5 separate regions of the Homo sapiens genome follow, and regions 1, 2, 4 and 5 are each linked to region 3. The links are contacts of gene promoters, found by promoter capture Hi-C in blood cells and fetal thymus (Javierre and others, 2016). All regions are on one chromosome and are shown on one strand. The core of a region is centred on a gene start or on the middle of the fragment in contact, and the rest is flanking DNA. Distances in the headings are between cores, read along the strand shown.

Region 1 (2,700 bases), core at 99-2,598, 340 kb before region 3:
GCACACGGAGGCAAAGAGGCATTTATTTAGTAGTGGAACTTTCTGTTCAATGGTATCTGCTGAACCAGATATTTGTAAAGATAAACGTGGGAGGACCACTTGAGCACCAGGAGGTCAAGGCTGCAGTGAGCTGTGATGATGGTACCACCACAACCCAGCCTGGGCGAGAGCAAGATCCAGTCTCTTAAAAAAATAATAATAAAATAAATAAATAAATAAAAACAGATAAAGGTAGAACTAGGTGAAGTCTCTACCCACTCAGCCACCTGAGCATGCCTCTCTCCCCCAGCCTTTGCCAAGGAAACCTGGGGGACTGAAAAGTAACAAAAGAAACCAAATGTCCTCATCAGTCGCTCATGCCCGGCGCATCTCTCAGCCTCATCTCAGTCTCAACAAGTGAAGGAGGCATCCGCGGGGTCACGGACCTGTGCTCGCAGCAACGCTCATGTCAGCAGCGGGCCTGGGACTCCACTGTGGCTGGGCAGGAGGCCCCGCCCTGCGCACGCTCACTCGCTAGCTGAAGGGAGTGGCCTCTGAAATTACTCCGTGGTATCATCAGCCACTGGGGAATGTGATTCTTTTAATTTTTATAAGAGCCCTTGATTACCTTACCTTTGAAATAAATTCCGTCACTTCAGAGGAAGATTTGGTTACTGATGTTATTGAAGAATCAGACCACAAGACCTTAAAAACAAACAAACAAACAAACCTTAGAAACAGACACCACATACTTGGTTCCCAGCACGTGTCCTGGTACGACTGGGGCACACGTTCAGTCGGCAGCTGAGCCCAGTGGGCCGTGCACCTGCTGTGGGAAGCACCTAAGCATCCCTTGACTTGTTACAGAAAGAAGAGTCACATAGCTCCAGGCCCTCTAAAGTCTAACTTGTTTTATGCAATTATTCAGATATCACCAAATTACTCCAGAGTGGGGTCTACAGCTGCCTCCTGTAAGTTCTAGAAAATCCCTGACAATTGCTTGTGTGTGCCCTGTTCAACTTCCTCAGGGGACCTCCTCTTCTTAAGTGAGCCTATGTGCCTCAGATGCAAGAGCGACACATTCCCAGAGAGCAGCCCTTCGACCACCGGTAAGGGCCCGTGGTGCGCCCGCCCAGGTGCTGTGGGCACACAGTGAGCCCAGGCCCTGCTCTCAGGACACTGCAGAGCTGTGGGGACAGTGTGAGTCCATTGATAGCAACAGGACAGGGCAGTGATCACTAGGGCAGCAGTGATCACTGCTGGGGAAGAGCAGTGAAAAGGGCTTTCTGGAGGAGATTCTGCAACGTCTGGTGTGCCCAGCCCTTGTGAGCATCAGCTTTCCTTCCCAGCATGCAGCAGCGGGCGGTGTCACTGCATGGCTCCACGGAGGTCCATCTCCCCACATGCACGCTAAGCTCCAGGGGGGAAGGGGCGGTGTCTTTTTGCTCAGCTCTCCCCTGGCTATCACAATGCTCGTCACATGAGGTGCTAAACAAAGCTGACTGAGGGGGAAGGAGAGCGTACTTTTTGCACATTAGAGGGAGTTTCTGCATGGAGAAGAGCTTGGGTTGACTTCTGAAAGGCAAATAAGAAGTTAGCTACAGGATTGAGATGGACAGAGGGGATGGCCTGAAATGACAGGGAGGAGGCCAGGTCAGGAAGGGACAAGCACCAAATGCAAATTGCACTCAAGTCCACAAGAAGCTGGGGGATTTCAAGTCGGCAAATAAAATGACCAAATACATTATGCAAAAGAAAACGCTGTATTAACACTGATTTAGAGCAAAGAGAGCTCACAGGCACCCAAACCACCTCTGCTCCCTCACCCACACCCACACCCACATCCATGGGCCTGCAGTCTAGTCCCCGAGGTGTCCACCCTCCTGCCTGCTGAAACTGAGGCCAGTCTCGTCACATCACGTAGCGTCACTCCTGGGTCTGTTTCATCACGCCCTCATAATACACAGGCCAGTCGAGGAAAGGGCCACCTCTTCTTCACCAGAACCCCAGTGCCTACCAGAATTCATCAAGGCAAGCAGCAGCGTCCCTGGAACTAACGGCTGCAAGGCGTGCACCTTGCCACCCAGAATCTTCCACACCTAAAATGAAAATGCTTGAGGCCGGGCGCAGTGGCTCACACCTGTAATCCCAGCACTTTGGGAGGCTGAGGTGGGCGGATCACCTGAGGTCAGGAGTTCAAGACCAGCCTGACCAACGTGGAGAAACCCCGTCTCTACTAAAAATACAAAATTGGCCGGGCATGGTGGCAGGCGCCTGTAATCCTAGCTACTTGGGAGACTGAGGTGGGAGAACTGCTTGAACCCGGGAGGGGGAGGCTGCAGTGAGCCGAGATCGCGCCATTGCACTCCAGCCTGGGCAACAAGAGCGAAACTCTATCAAAAAAAAAAAAGAAAGAAAGAAAGAAAAGAAAAGAAAAGAAAATGTTTGAGCTCCTTCTCTGCCTTAAATATTAAAATCTCTCAACACCAAAAATCTTGGGGAGAGGTTCCTAAGCTGCTCCCCACACAGAACTCCAAGAACACCACCACCAACAGACACAAACCCCTGCCGTGAAGATGGCTGTCCCCCGCGCTGCTGACAGCGTGTCTCTTTCAAGGTAAAGCGTGTCATAGAAAACGTCTCCTCTGCACAGCTCTCACACCTGCCTCTAGGCTGTATCTTTCCTACTGCGCCCTAACCCAGGGAAGATGTGAAATCCAC
Region 2 (2,700 bases), core at 201-2,700, 310 kb before region 3:
TTTTTTTTTTTTTCAGACGGAGTTTTGCTCTTGTTGCCCAGGCTGGAGTGCAATGGCGTGATCTTGGCTTACCACGACCTCCGCCTCCTGGGTTCAAGCGATTCTCCTGCCTCAGCCTCCCGAGTAGCTGGGATTACAGATGCCCGCCACCACGCCCAGCTAATTTTGTATTTTTAGTAGAGATGGGGTTTCTTCATGTTGGTCAGGCTGGTCTCAAACTCCCAACCTCAGGTGATCCGCCCACCTCAGTCTCCCAAAGTGCTGGGATTACAGGTGTGAGAAACCACGTCTGGACTTCTCCTTAAAAAACATCAATAATTGAGATTTTTACAGCCAAAGCATATTCATGTATTGCTTATAGAATTTAGAAAAATACACATAAGATTGGCATTTATGAAAGATCTGAAAGCATTTAACAATGCCCTCACGGGGATCTGGGGTGTGCCCATCCTCCGTCCGTCAGACGTCCTCCTGAAACCCGTGCGTGCACTCACCTTTGCTGTGTTTTCCTAAGGGCCTCTTGGGCAGCGACTCCTCCGTGGAATGTGCTGATGTGTGCAGGGCATTCTCCAAACTATTACTGACACTGCTGACAGGGGCCTCAGTTCTTGGAGTGATCTGAGGGAACAGAAACAGAATCATCTTATTTTCTCCCACGGAGTTAATAGGGGACAATTTTATTTGTTAATTAAGTCTTTCATAATTACCTTGGTTTCCATTTTTCTACAAAACATGTATTATTATAATAATAAGCCTTCCCCAAGAAAGATGAAAATTTCACCTACTACTCTCCACTGAAAGTGCAAAAGAGCTCAGATAACTTGAGTCAAACACGGGCGCTTACGTCTTGTGGCTGGGGTTCATCGGGTGCACAGAAACTATGGTAGCCAAAGAGGCCGGGCACGGTGGCTCACGCCTGTTATCCCAGCACTTTAGGAGGCTGACGCAGGTGGATCTCTTGAGCCCAGGAGTTCAAGACCAGCCTGGCCAACATGGTGAAACCCCATCTCTATTAAAAATACAAAAATTAGCCAGGCGTGATGGCAAGTGCCTATAGTCCCAGCTACTCGGGAGGCTGACGTGGGAGGATCACTTGAACCCAGGAGGCAGGGGCTGCAGTGAGCCAAGATGGTGACACTACACTCCAGCCTGGGCAACAGAGTAAGGCTCTATCTCCAAGAAAAAAAAAAGGAACTATGTTAGCCAAGGTGGCATGAATTATATATTTTTATTTGAGGCAAACTTTTATTTTCATATTTCTTCAAATCAAATAGCTCCCTATAAAACGAATTACACAGCAGGACTTAACATTCTCCTTCTATAAATCTTAAATCATAAAATGCTTTAAAAACAACAGCAAAGAACAGAATACAACTCGGTCTATTTGGGGTACAGTTTGAAAAAGCATATCCTAAAATTACATCCCAATTCCATTTCTAGGAATTCACCATACCAAGTACTCACACGTGAGAAAATGACCTGATGGGGTGTGCCCACTGCAGGAGTGTCTGTGACAGGGAAAGCGGGGCACACCCTCAGTCCCCATCGACAGAGACCTGCTAAGCACAGACAGTGTACCTGCAGGTGACGGCCGCCCCCAAGCTGTGGGTGGGGGAGGCCCTCCTGACCACCAGTGCTCCCAACACACAACAAGCGCAGAAACAAGCCACGGGCTAGCCAGGCTCGTCCCACCCCTCCTGCTTCCTGGGTTCAGTGATGGTGTGAATGTGGAATAAGCCGGAAGGGGCCCAGAGGGGCGAGAGGAGGGGGGTAGCAATAACCTTCATTCCCTCCCCATCAGTATTTTAAAATTTCACAGCCAAAACACATTTATAACTTATAGGATTTAGAAGAATAAAAATGGCCAATGCTGTAACTTCTTTACAGTCTCAATGTATTTCAAAATTTCGGAGGATATGAGAGGCGTAAGATTTTAAAGTTCATCAAAAGAGCTGATAAGCAATGCTGCATTCACAGTATGGGAAAGTACATGGCACAAGCAGCCTGGAAAATGGCCTGACCTCTCCAGCCTCCACTTGTTCTTTCATCTCATACCTGGACGGTAGGTGGCAGTTGACCAAAACATCCCCTAAGTTCACTCACAAGCACAGATCCCAGCACTCGCTCTGCAGAGGGCTGGCCAGGTAGGCGTGGCCTCGACCTCAGACAGGATGAAAGTGGAGGCGGAAGCTGGAGTTGGGAGGAAAGGGTGGAGACTGCTGCCACTCCGGCAGGACCAGCACCTGCTGTATTCCACAGACAGCAAGCCACAGGGGCCACACCCAAGTCCATAGCGAGATCCTCTGATCCCAGCTCTGTCAATGCCCCTGCCCCCCAGCAAGAAGCCCTCCTGGGCTGTTCATGCAGGGAGAGGGACTAACAGATCCCACGCGGCTCAACAGATGCCTTCCAAGAAAAGCAACTTGTCACAGGGCTACATAATTGGGAAGTTTATGTAACTCGAGAAAATAAGGCCGGGCGCAGCAGCTCATGGCTATAATCCCAGCACTTTGGGAGGCTGAGGCAGGAGGACTGCTTGAAACTATGAGTTTGTTACTGGCCTGGGTAACAGCGAGACCCTGTCTCTATTTAAATTTCTAAAAAAGTAAAAAAAAAAAAAAAAGTCCTAGCCATGCAGCAACTCCTCCAGAAAGTCAATTCTTTGGATAACTTAATAACATGTTATCAAGAAAATAAAAT
Region 3 (2,700 bases), core at 193-2,692:
GAGGCTGAGGCAGGAGAACCACTTGAACCTGGGAGGCGGAGGTGCAGTGAGCTGAGATCGCACCATTGCACTCCACCCTGGGCAACAAGAGTGAAACTCCTTCAAAAAAAAAAAAAAAAAAAAAAAAAAAAAGCAGAAAGCAGCTAACAGCTGGTTACTGAGTGCTTACTTTCTGCCAAGCACCATTCTGAAGATACCACACAGATGAACTGACTTCCTGTGCCACAACCCTAGCCAGCAGGTCATGCCACTGCAGCCCAGCCTAGGTGACAGAGCAAGACTCTGTCAAAAAAAAAAAAAAAAAAAAGAAAGAGCCTAAGAGGAGTGTGAGGGAAAAGTCCAACTCCATTATTTAAGAGATGAGGACATGGAGAGATCAATGACTTAGGAAGAAAAGGGACAAAGGACTGTGGTCAAGAGCTCCTGATTCAGGACATCTGGTCACATCCCAGTTCCATACCACTTCATGGTTCACCTGTTGGTCTTCCTGTCAAATGGGAATACCAGTGCTACGGAACTGACCTGCTCGTGAGGAGTAAAGCCCAGGGAGCTGTGCCTGGCGCACGGCAGGCCATAAAACTGGCCCCGGTTAGGGAATCCATGAGCAGCAGCCGCAGAACACTCAACCCCAAGGTCAGGACGGATCCTCCTGCAGACCCCGGGCTGAGGACCAGAGGGAAGGAGACAACCGTGATGGCCGCCATCAGCTGCTACGGGATACCCCGTGGCTCCAGTGCCTTCTTCACTTAACCATCTGCTGCTCACTGCTCAGGGCTGCTGTGATGATTATTTGCCCTCTTTTGAAAGAAAAGTAAGGTTCAGAAAAGTTAAGAGTCTTACTCCCAGACCACACATCATGCAGAGGCAGCCCCCGGCTCAACCTCAGGTCTTCCTGTGCCAAACCCCTCCCTCTTCTCACCACCCAGCCTCCCTTCAGAGGGAGGGTGGAGGGAGAAGGGAGGAGGGGGAGGAAACGCAGAAAAACGCCCGTGACACCACACTAAGAAAAGCAAGCACGTTAAAGGGGGCAGCTCCGAGAAGCGGACAGACACACGTGGAGACTCAGGAGGGGGCGGGCCCCGTCTGGGCTGCCCGGACGCGGCGCCGGGGCAGTTCCTACGGCCTCCAGCTCTCCCGCAGGGCCGGCGCGGCTCCCACGGCCGACCCGTAACCCCGGGGGGCGCAGGGAGTCGGCCGAGGCTGCACGGCCGCGACGTCGGGCCGCTAAGCCCGGTCTGACCCGCTCACCTCCTCCTTCCGCGAGCGCTTAGACACCTTCTTCTCCATCTTGGCGGCCGTCTTCTCCGCGCCGCGGCCCTTCTTCTCCTTCTTGCCCTTCTTGCCCATCTTGCCGGGTCCCAAGCCGCGACGGGACACCAGGAAAGAAAACGGCCCGCGCTCTCCGCTCGGAAACAGGTGCTCGTGGGGCGGAGCTCGGCGCACAGAAATGGAGTCACTTCCGGCCCCGAGTTCGAGCCGCTTCCGGGTAGAGGTGCGGCTGGGCCCTTTACGAGGTTCGGTCTTGGAGCTCCGTCTTCGGCAGCGGGCTCGGGGGCCTCGGACTCTGCATAAGGCCCCGGAAAAGATGACCGGCCCCGGGCTGGGCGCGGTGGCTCATGCCTGTAACCCTGGAGCTTTGGGAGGCCTTGGCGGGCGGATCGCTTGAGTCCAGGAGTTCGAGATCAGCCTGGGCAACAAAGCGAGACACCACCCCCCACCCCCAGTCGCTACAGAAGAAAAAAAAAAAAATTAACCGGGCGTGGTGTCTCGCGCCCAGTGGTCCTAGCTCCTCGGGAAGGTGAGGCGGGAAGATCGCTTGAGTCAAGGAGTTCCAGGCAGCAATGCGCCCCTGCACCCCAACCTGGGCGACAGAGCGAGATCCTGTTTCAAAAAACAAAAAAGATGGCAGCCCCGGCCTGACATACCCCGGCCATGCTCGCCAATTCTCACGCCCTGTGCCCCCACCTAGCCTGTCCCCGTGTCCTAGGAGACGTGCCCTCTGAGTTTTATTTTTTATTTCTATTTTTTTGAGGCAGGGTCTTGCTCTGTCGCCCAGGCTGGAGTGCGGTAGCGCGATCTCGGCTCGCTGTAACCTCCGCCTCTGGAGTAGCTGGGACCACAGGAGCCCACCACGCCCGGCTCATTTTCTCTTGAGTTTTCCGGGGTGCACGTGCCCCCCGTTAAGGCACATTGCTTCGCCCTGGGTAGAACTAAGTGGGCGACTCTTGGGCTAGCCCCATTTTTTCCCCTCAGACCAAACAAATGAGTGCTTTTTTCCCAGAAAAAAAATTTCACACAGTTATAAGATTTTGCAGATCCTGAGTAAGACAGTCCCTGCCGGGCGCGGTGGCTCACGCCTGTAATCCCAGCACTTTGGGAGGCCGAGGTGAGTGGATCACGAGGTCAGGAGTTCGAGACCAGCCTAGCCAACATGGTGAAACCCCCGTCTCTACTAAAACTACAAAAATTAGCCAGGCGTGGTGGTGGGCACCTGTAATCCCAGCTACTTGGGAGGCTGAGGCAGGAGAATTGCTTGAACCCAGGGGGCAGAGGTTGCAATGAGCTGAGATCAAGCCACTTCACTCCAGCTTGGGCAAAAGAGCAAAATTCCATCTTAAAAAAAAAAAAAAATGGGGGGGCCCTTCCACCTTCCCATTTAAAATGTGCCAGACACTGTTAGGTACTAAGGGCATGTCCTCA
Region 4 (2,700 bases), core at 168-2,667, 450 kb before region 3:
GTGAGAGGGTGACATCAGAAGCAGGCGTGTGCTAGCTCATGCGTGAATGTCTAGGGGCTCCTGGGGGCTGGCTGTCATGGAATCCTGCATTCCCAAGCCAACCAGCTTCAAGCTGACTCCAGCTACACTTGTGCTTGGAGCATCAGAAAAGACAGGAGCATTCCAACCTGCTGAGAACTTTCCAAGACATGTAGCTGCCAATCACATCACCTAGGATGATCTGTCAGACACCCTCAACTTACTGAAATACTGAAGAAAAAACATCGTCAAACTGTCCATTAATGAACCTCCTTCCACTATAAAAACCCGGGTGCTTTGTCTCTGGGATGACAAAGCACTTGGGGTTACACAGCCTGTGTGGCTCTTCCCTGTTCCACTCCCCAACAAACTGCTTGAATGTTGGCTGGATGAAGCGTCTCCAGTGGGTGCAAAGCCCTGCTTCCCTGACAGTAGTGGGTCAAAGTGCTTTGTATGTGGAAACCGTAAGAGCGATATAAGTGTTTTTGGGTTTCATTGTCATAATAACCATTATTATTATTGCTATTTTTGTGAGAGTAATAGGTTCACGCATCAACTCTCCCAGATAATGCTTGAAAACAGAGGATGGGGCACTGCCCTCCACAGCATCCGAGGCCCCTTCTGGTAATGACAGCACTGCTATATTCCTGGTGGGGAGGGGGGGGGCCACAGCCATCTCAGTCCTTGTAGTTCAGGTGGGCCAAACTCACCACTGCCCAGCCTGGAAAGCTGGGAAAAAAAAGAATCTCCTTTTTGTTGAGGTTGATAATCTGATAACATGTAAACCTCAGGAGGTCCTGGTGATCATCTTGCCTCCACAAGGGAAGCCAGCAAAAAGGAAGGAAGCTGAGAGATGGAGAGAAACCTTCCAGGACCATGGTCAATGTGTACCTGGATACATCCATGCCTGAAGGCCTACTTCTGACATTTTCAGTTATGTGGAACCATCAGTTGCGTTTTTGTTAAGCCAATGTAAGTGAGGTTCCTGTGGGTGGCGGTCAAGAGTTCTGCCTGTGCATAGGTCATGGAGCAATGCCGGGCCGGGAACTCACAGGCGAGGTGTCGGGTAGCCGCGGGCAGGATTCAGGACTCACTTGCCTGCCATCCTGCGCGCTGGGTGTGAGTGCCAACCTGCAGAGCCCGACGCACCCCGCGCCCGGCCCCCCGGCAGCAGCGCCTGAGGCTGCTCCAGTGGCCTCATGATGATGGTGACAACGCCGCGGGGACGGTGGGGACCGGCTCGCACGCATATGGCTTCTTATGGCTGACGCGCCCTTTCACACACACATCGTCCGCAGGCCCTGACGCCCTGGCTCCCGCCTTTCCCTCCTGCCCCAGGAGGAACCCAACCCGAGCTCAACCCCAGCCCCAACCTCAACCGCTCAGAGGAGCCCAACAACGCCCGCGCGCCCGCCCGTCCCGCTGACTAGCCCGCGCCCAGCCAATCAAAATTGGCCTTCTAGGTATGTGACCTTAGCTGGCAGCTGATTGGTCCCTCACGAGAGACGCGGGGTCAGCGGCTCAGAGCGCGGCTGTGTGGGGCTGCGGGGCTCCCGCCATGCCCGCTGGGGTAGGTCCTGCGGACCCCGGCCACTGGAGCCACTCATCATTTCCGACGGATGGGCCGGAGGGGCCGCCGGCCGCCCCAGCCAGGGTCTCGGTAGCCTGCAAGGAGAGAAAGAGGTGGGAGCAGCCCGCGCGGGGCCCTGCGTCTTGCATAGGCGCTTCTGGTAAAATCACTCCTTTATCTCAGATAATGAGTTGGCGCTGGATCGCTGCGTCCTCAGGTGGGGCTCGAATCGTGACTTTTAGAGAAATAGGTTTTCTTTCTTTTTTTTTTTTTTTAACAACATGGGGTTTAAAGGGCGCGGAATTGGAAGCAGTCGTCACCCGGAGGCCTGGGCGTGCAAGCACCGAAGCTCTGGCTGGCCCTGAGCCTCCCCACCCCACCCGCTCTTTTCGCTGGAACGCGTGTACTTTGGGCAGTTGCTGACGTGGAGACAGGACGTATGTCTTCATATTTTAGTAAAACCCAATGCCCTCTGCCTCTCTGATTATGTTCTTTAAGTTATCGCCAGTTCCAATTTGTATTTCTTGGAAACGGTTGGGTCTTCCCTCACTTTTCAGTATTTTCATGTAGACTCAAATACTCTGGATTAATATTTGTATTTGCCCAAACCATCACGAGCACCTCTTACCCTGATGGGCAATACTTCAGTGTGCTGCGTTCTGGCCACAGAGCAAACAGGGTGCTCCCAGGCACTGCCCTCTCGGATTTCTTGCCTTGTTATTTAATCATTAAGATCGTGACCTATGAGCAGGACTGTTTCCAGCCAGCACATACACATGTCCTCTCCTGGCCAGCATCCATGCTGATTAGACGGTGCCCCTGCCATACTAGCTGCCTAATATTTCAGATACCCCACCCCGTGTGTGTGTGTAAATCATGTCACTGCCCTCTTTGTAGCTAATGACAAAATTCCAAGAGTCACCATTAGCCTAGCACATTATGCCTGTCTCATTTCTGCCCACTTTGGAGCACTCGGCTTCTCTGCTGTTTTCCTCCAGAGCACACTGAAACACTGCCATAGCACAGCAGGGCATAGAAGACAGGCTCATGCTCCCCTGGACGCTCAGGCCTTCACCTCGGGCACACTAGGTCTTGTCATTCCATGTCAAGAA
Region 5 (2,700 bases), core at 68-2,567, 380 kb before region 3:
TTAAACAGAGAGAGCCTTGAACTCCAGATTAAATAAACATCTCCTCCTGTGATCTGTTACATCCAATATTGCTGAAGGCAAAAGTCCAGCCCGCACCGCTGTGATCCATCCGTCTCTCTACGCCCCCACCATCAGGAGCCCCCGACACTGGGCTTCCCCTACTCCCGTAATTTTTTTTGTTGCTGTTGTTTGAGACCAAGTCGCACTCTGTCGCCTAGGGTGGAGTGCAATGGCCCAGATGTTGGCTCAGTGCAACCTCCGCCTCCCGGGTTCAAGCCATTCTTCTGCCTCACCCTCCCGAGTAGCTGGGATTACAGGCGCCCGCTACCACGCCCGGCTAATTTTTGTATTTTTGTAAGTAGAGACGGGGTTTTACCATCTTCACCAGGCTGGTCTCGAACTCCTGACCTCAGGTGACCCGCCCGCCTCGGCCTCCCTAAGTGCTGAGATTACAGGCGTGAAACCGCGCCCGGCCTGCTCCCATTTCTTCAAGTTCACCTCGTCTCTGGTCAGGGCCAGCGGGGCACCCTCGGCTCGCCTTCAAGACAGGGGCAGAGGAGGCGGCCCCCAGGCGTCAGCTTAGGCCCCGCGCAGACCTCGAGGGATCCCAGCCCCAGCTCCCGGCACGGCCTCGGCCCCGTGGTGTCCCGTGCCCCGCGTCAGGGCCTCTTCGATGCCTCCCTGACGCCCTCAACCCCTCCCTACCCCGTCTGCCTCTCTTGGACCCCTCGGACCCTCCCTAACCGCCTCAAATACCTCCCTGGCCCCCTCAACGTGGTGTCACCGCGGCCGCTCCCCACCCACACCCAAAACACCACATCGCCGGGCCCCGCGCCCAACTGGTGGCCCCCGGCCGGGGCCACCGCCCCCGCCACTCCCAGCTCCGAGGCCTCCACCTGGCAGGGACCCCCCGCCCCTCCCGGCCCCGCCACCCCCGCGCGCTCACCCTCACGGCAACGCCTCCTCCAGATGGTGTCGGTGTGGAGGATGCGCCGGAACTTCGTGCAGACCTGGGCCAAGCTGGGTAGGTCCGTGCCCGGCAGCGACGCGAAGATCTCCACCAGCAGCTCGGGCGGCAGCTCCAGCAGCGAGCAGCGCGGGGGCGGCGGCGAGGGGCCCGCGCACAAGCCGCCCCCGACCCCGGCGCTAGCCTCGATGCGCTCCTCCTCGGGGTCTGTGTCCGGCTCGCTGTCGGCCGCCGCCGTCTCGGCCGGGCCCCGGCGCTGCTGGCGGCGCCGACATCCGCGCGACGGGCCCACGCCGCAAAGGCGAGCACACACCGCCATGCCGCCCAGTGACGGCCACTGCTGCCGCCTGTGCGCACGCTCCAGCGCGGCCCCGCCCCGCCAGCGCCGAGCCACGCCCCCGCCGCAGAGCTCGCCACGCCCCCTGGAGAGCCTAGCCCCGCCCCTACGTAGAGCTCCGCCCCGGCCGCGCCACCCCCTCCCCGCGGGGCGGCGACCTCAGAGACCCCGCACTGCTGCCCTCCCCTCCAGCGTGAGGGCGCCGCCCGTGACGGGCATGAGAAAAGAAAGTGGTGATGCCGAGTGCAAAACGTTAGACTGCCCCGTGTGAGGCTCGAACTCACGACCTTCAGATTATGAGACTGACGCGCTGCCTACTGCGCTAACGAGGCTGCTCGGCGACCACTTCGCGCCGCGGCTTTTGTGGAGATAGGGGTCGCCCCTCGCGCCCGTGCGTCCCGCTTCCGGCGCCCGAAACTGTGCCGCGCCGGCCGGTGAGTAGAAAGATGCGCCTTACAGCCTCCAAATACAGAGGCAGCAGCCAGAACCCCAAAGGGCGCCTAGAAGCCCTTTTGTCCATTGAAACAACGCGCGTTCCATCGTCTCCGCCTTATGGTAACCAAAAGGCCCGAGCTGCGGAGCTCTGCAGGGACCTTCGGGGATCCCGAGCTCCCTGCGGAAGCCCCGGGGAGGGCTTGGAGGGGCGGCGGCCGGCGCGGCCCAAGAGATCCGGGGATGCGCGCCCGGTCTGGAAAGGGAGGCCCTGCCATGCGGCGCCGCCCAAAGGGCGCCTGTTCCTGCAGCTGCTGGGAGCCGCGCACGCCTGCTCCAGCTGGGCTCCGCCGAGGCCGCTGAGCGGGGTCGTCTCCCAGGTCCGCGGGTGGTGACCGCGAAGGCGTCCTCTCACCTGAGCAGCCGCGCACGTCGCCGTGGGCTCGCCTCGGACCCCATCTCTTGGAGGCCCAGGCGGGAGTATCAATCGAGGCCAGGAGCTCGAGACCGGCCTGGGCAATACAGCGAGACCCTGTCTACAAAACAAAATTTTAGAAAGAGAAGCTGAGACGGGAGGATCGCTTGATCCCAGGAGGCCGAGGCTGTAGTGACCCGTGATGGTGCCACTGCACTTCAGCCTGGGCAACACAGCGTGACCCTGTCTCCAAAACAAACAAAAAACAAAAATAGCCACAAATGGCTGGGCGCGGTGGCTCACGTCTGTAATCCCAGCACTTTGGGAGGCGGAGAAGGGTGCATCACCTGAGGTCAGGAGTTTGAGACCCGCCTGACCAACATGGTGAAACCCTGTCTCTTCAAACAAACAAACAAACAAACCACACAGGCCAGGCGCAGTGGCTCACGCCTGTAATTCTAGCACTTTGGGAGGCCGAGGCGGGTAGATCGGTTAAGCCCAGGAGTCGGAGACCAGCCTACCCACATAGTGAGACGCCCCCATCTCTAC

Evidence for each region. Contacts are between HindIII fragments. The CHiCAGO score rates a contact against its expected background, and 5 or more counts as called.
Region 1: a contact is called between a fragment that was not itself captured here and the fragment with the promoter of KLHDC4 in region 3, in 2 of 17 cell types (naive CD4 T cells and naive CD8 T cells). The highest score is 6.3, in naive CD4 T cells.
Region 2: a contact is called between a fragment that was not itself captured here and the fragment with the promoter of KLHDC4 in region 3, in 1 of 17 cell types (endothelial precursors). The highest score is 5.7, in endothelial precursors.
Region 4: a contact is called between the fragment with the promoter of C16orf95 here and the fragment with the promoter of KLHDC4 in region 3, in 3 of 17 cell types (naive CD8 T cells, naive B cells and total CD8 T cells). The highest score is 7.4, in naive CD8 T cells.
Region 5: the fragment with the promoter of FBXO31 here is called in contact with the fragment with the promoter of KLHDC4 in region 3 in 11 of 17 cell types (naive CD8 T cells, naive CD4 T cells, total CD8 T cells and 8 more); the score reaches 12.2 in naive CD8 T cells.

Annotation. Positions count from the first base shown.
Region 1 is chr16:87,423,198-87,425,897 of GRCh38, forward strand. ZCCHC14 (zinc finger CCHC-type containing 14) reads right to left here. Exons shown (of 13, transcript NM_015144.3): 4 at 613-684. Among named protein-coding and RNA genes, the nearest start is that of MAP1LC3B, 32 kb to the left of the region's middle. RefSeq lists enhancers at 1-487, 488-995, 2,014-2,523. The HindIII fragment of the contact is 7,231 bases long and covers 1-2,700 here.
Region 2 is chr16:87,459,514-87,462,213 of GRCh38, forward strand. ZCCHC14 (zinc finger CCHC-type containing 14) reads right to left here. Exons shown (of 13, transcript NM_015144.3): 2 at 495-618. Among named protein-coding and RNA genes, the nearest start is that of ZCCHC14, 32 kb to the right of the region's middle. The HindIII fragment of the contact is 6,784 bases long and covers 1-2,700 here.
Region 3 is chr16:87,764,544-87,767,243 of GRCh38, forward strand. It overlaps KLHDC4 (kelch domain containing 4), which reads right to left and starts at 1,443. Exons shown (of 12, transcript NM_017566.4): 1 at 1,249-1,443. The coding sequence starts at 1,347. LOC105371399 (a long non-coding RNA gene) reads left to right here and starts at 1,498. Exons shown (of 3, transcript XR_933871.3): 1 at 1,498-1,798. LOC102724467 (a long non-coding RNA gene) reads right to left here. Exons shown (of 4, transcript NR_120309.1): 4 at 1,788-1,881. RefSeq lists enhancers at 731-1,355, 1,339-1,398, 1,479-1,538. The HindIII fragment of the contact is 5,415 bases long and covers 1-2,700 here.
Region 4 is chr16:87,315,975-87,318,674 of GRCh38, forward strand. C16orf95 (chromosome 16 open reading frame 95) reads right to left here and starts at 1,418. Exons shown (of 7, transcript NM_001195124.3): 1 at 1,117-1,418. The coding sequence starts at 1,268. C16orf95-DT (C16orf95 divergent transcript) reads left to right here and starts at 1,535. Exons shown (of 2, transcript NR_135180.1): 1 at 1,535-1,748; 2 at 1,883-2,069. RefSeq lists an enhancer at 996-1,445. The HindIII fragment of the contact is 6,644 bases long and covers 1-2,700 here.
Region 5 is chr16:87,382,459-87,385,158 of GRCh38, forward strand. FBXO31 (F-box protein 31) reads right to left here and starts at 1,318. Exons shown (of 9, transcript NM_024735.5): 1 at 947-1,318. The coding sequence starts at 1,286. TRM-CAT6-1 (tRNA-Met (anticodon CAT) 6-1) reads right to left here and starts at 1,636; the gene lies at 1,564-1,636. LOC124903747 (a long non-coding RNA gene) reads left to right here and starts at 1,475. Exons shown (of 2, transcript XR_007065168.1): 1 at 1,475-1,738. RefSeq lists silencers at 674-913, 1,054-1,713 and enhancers at 1,121-1,774, 1,775-2,426. The HindIII fragment of the contact is 7,278 bases long and covers 1-2,700 here.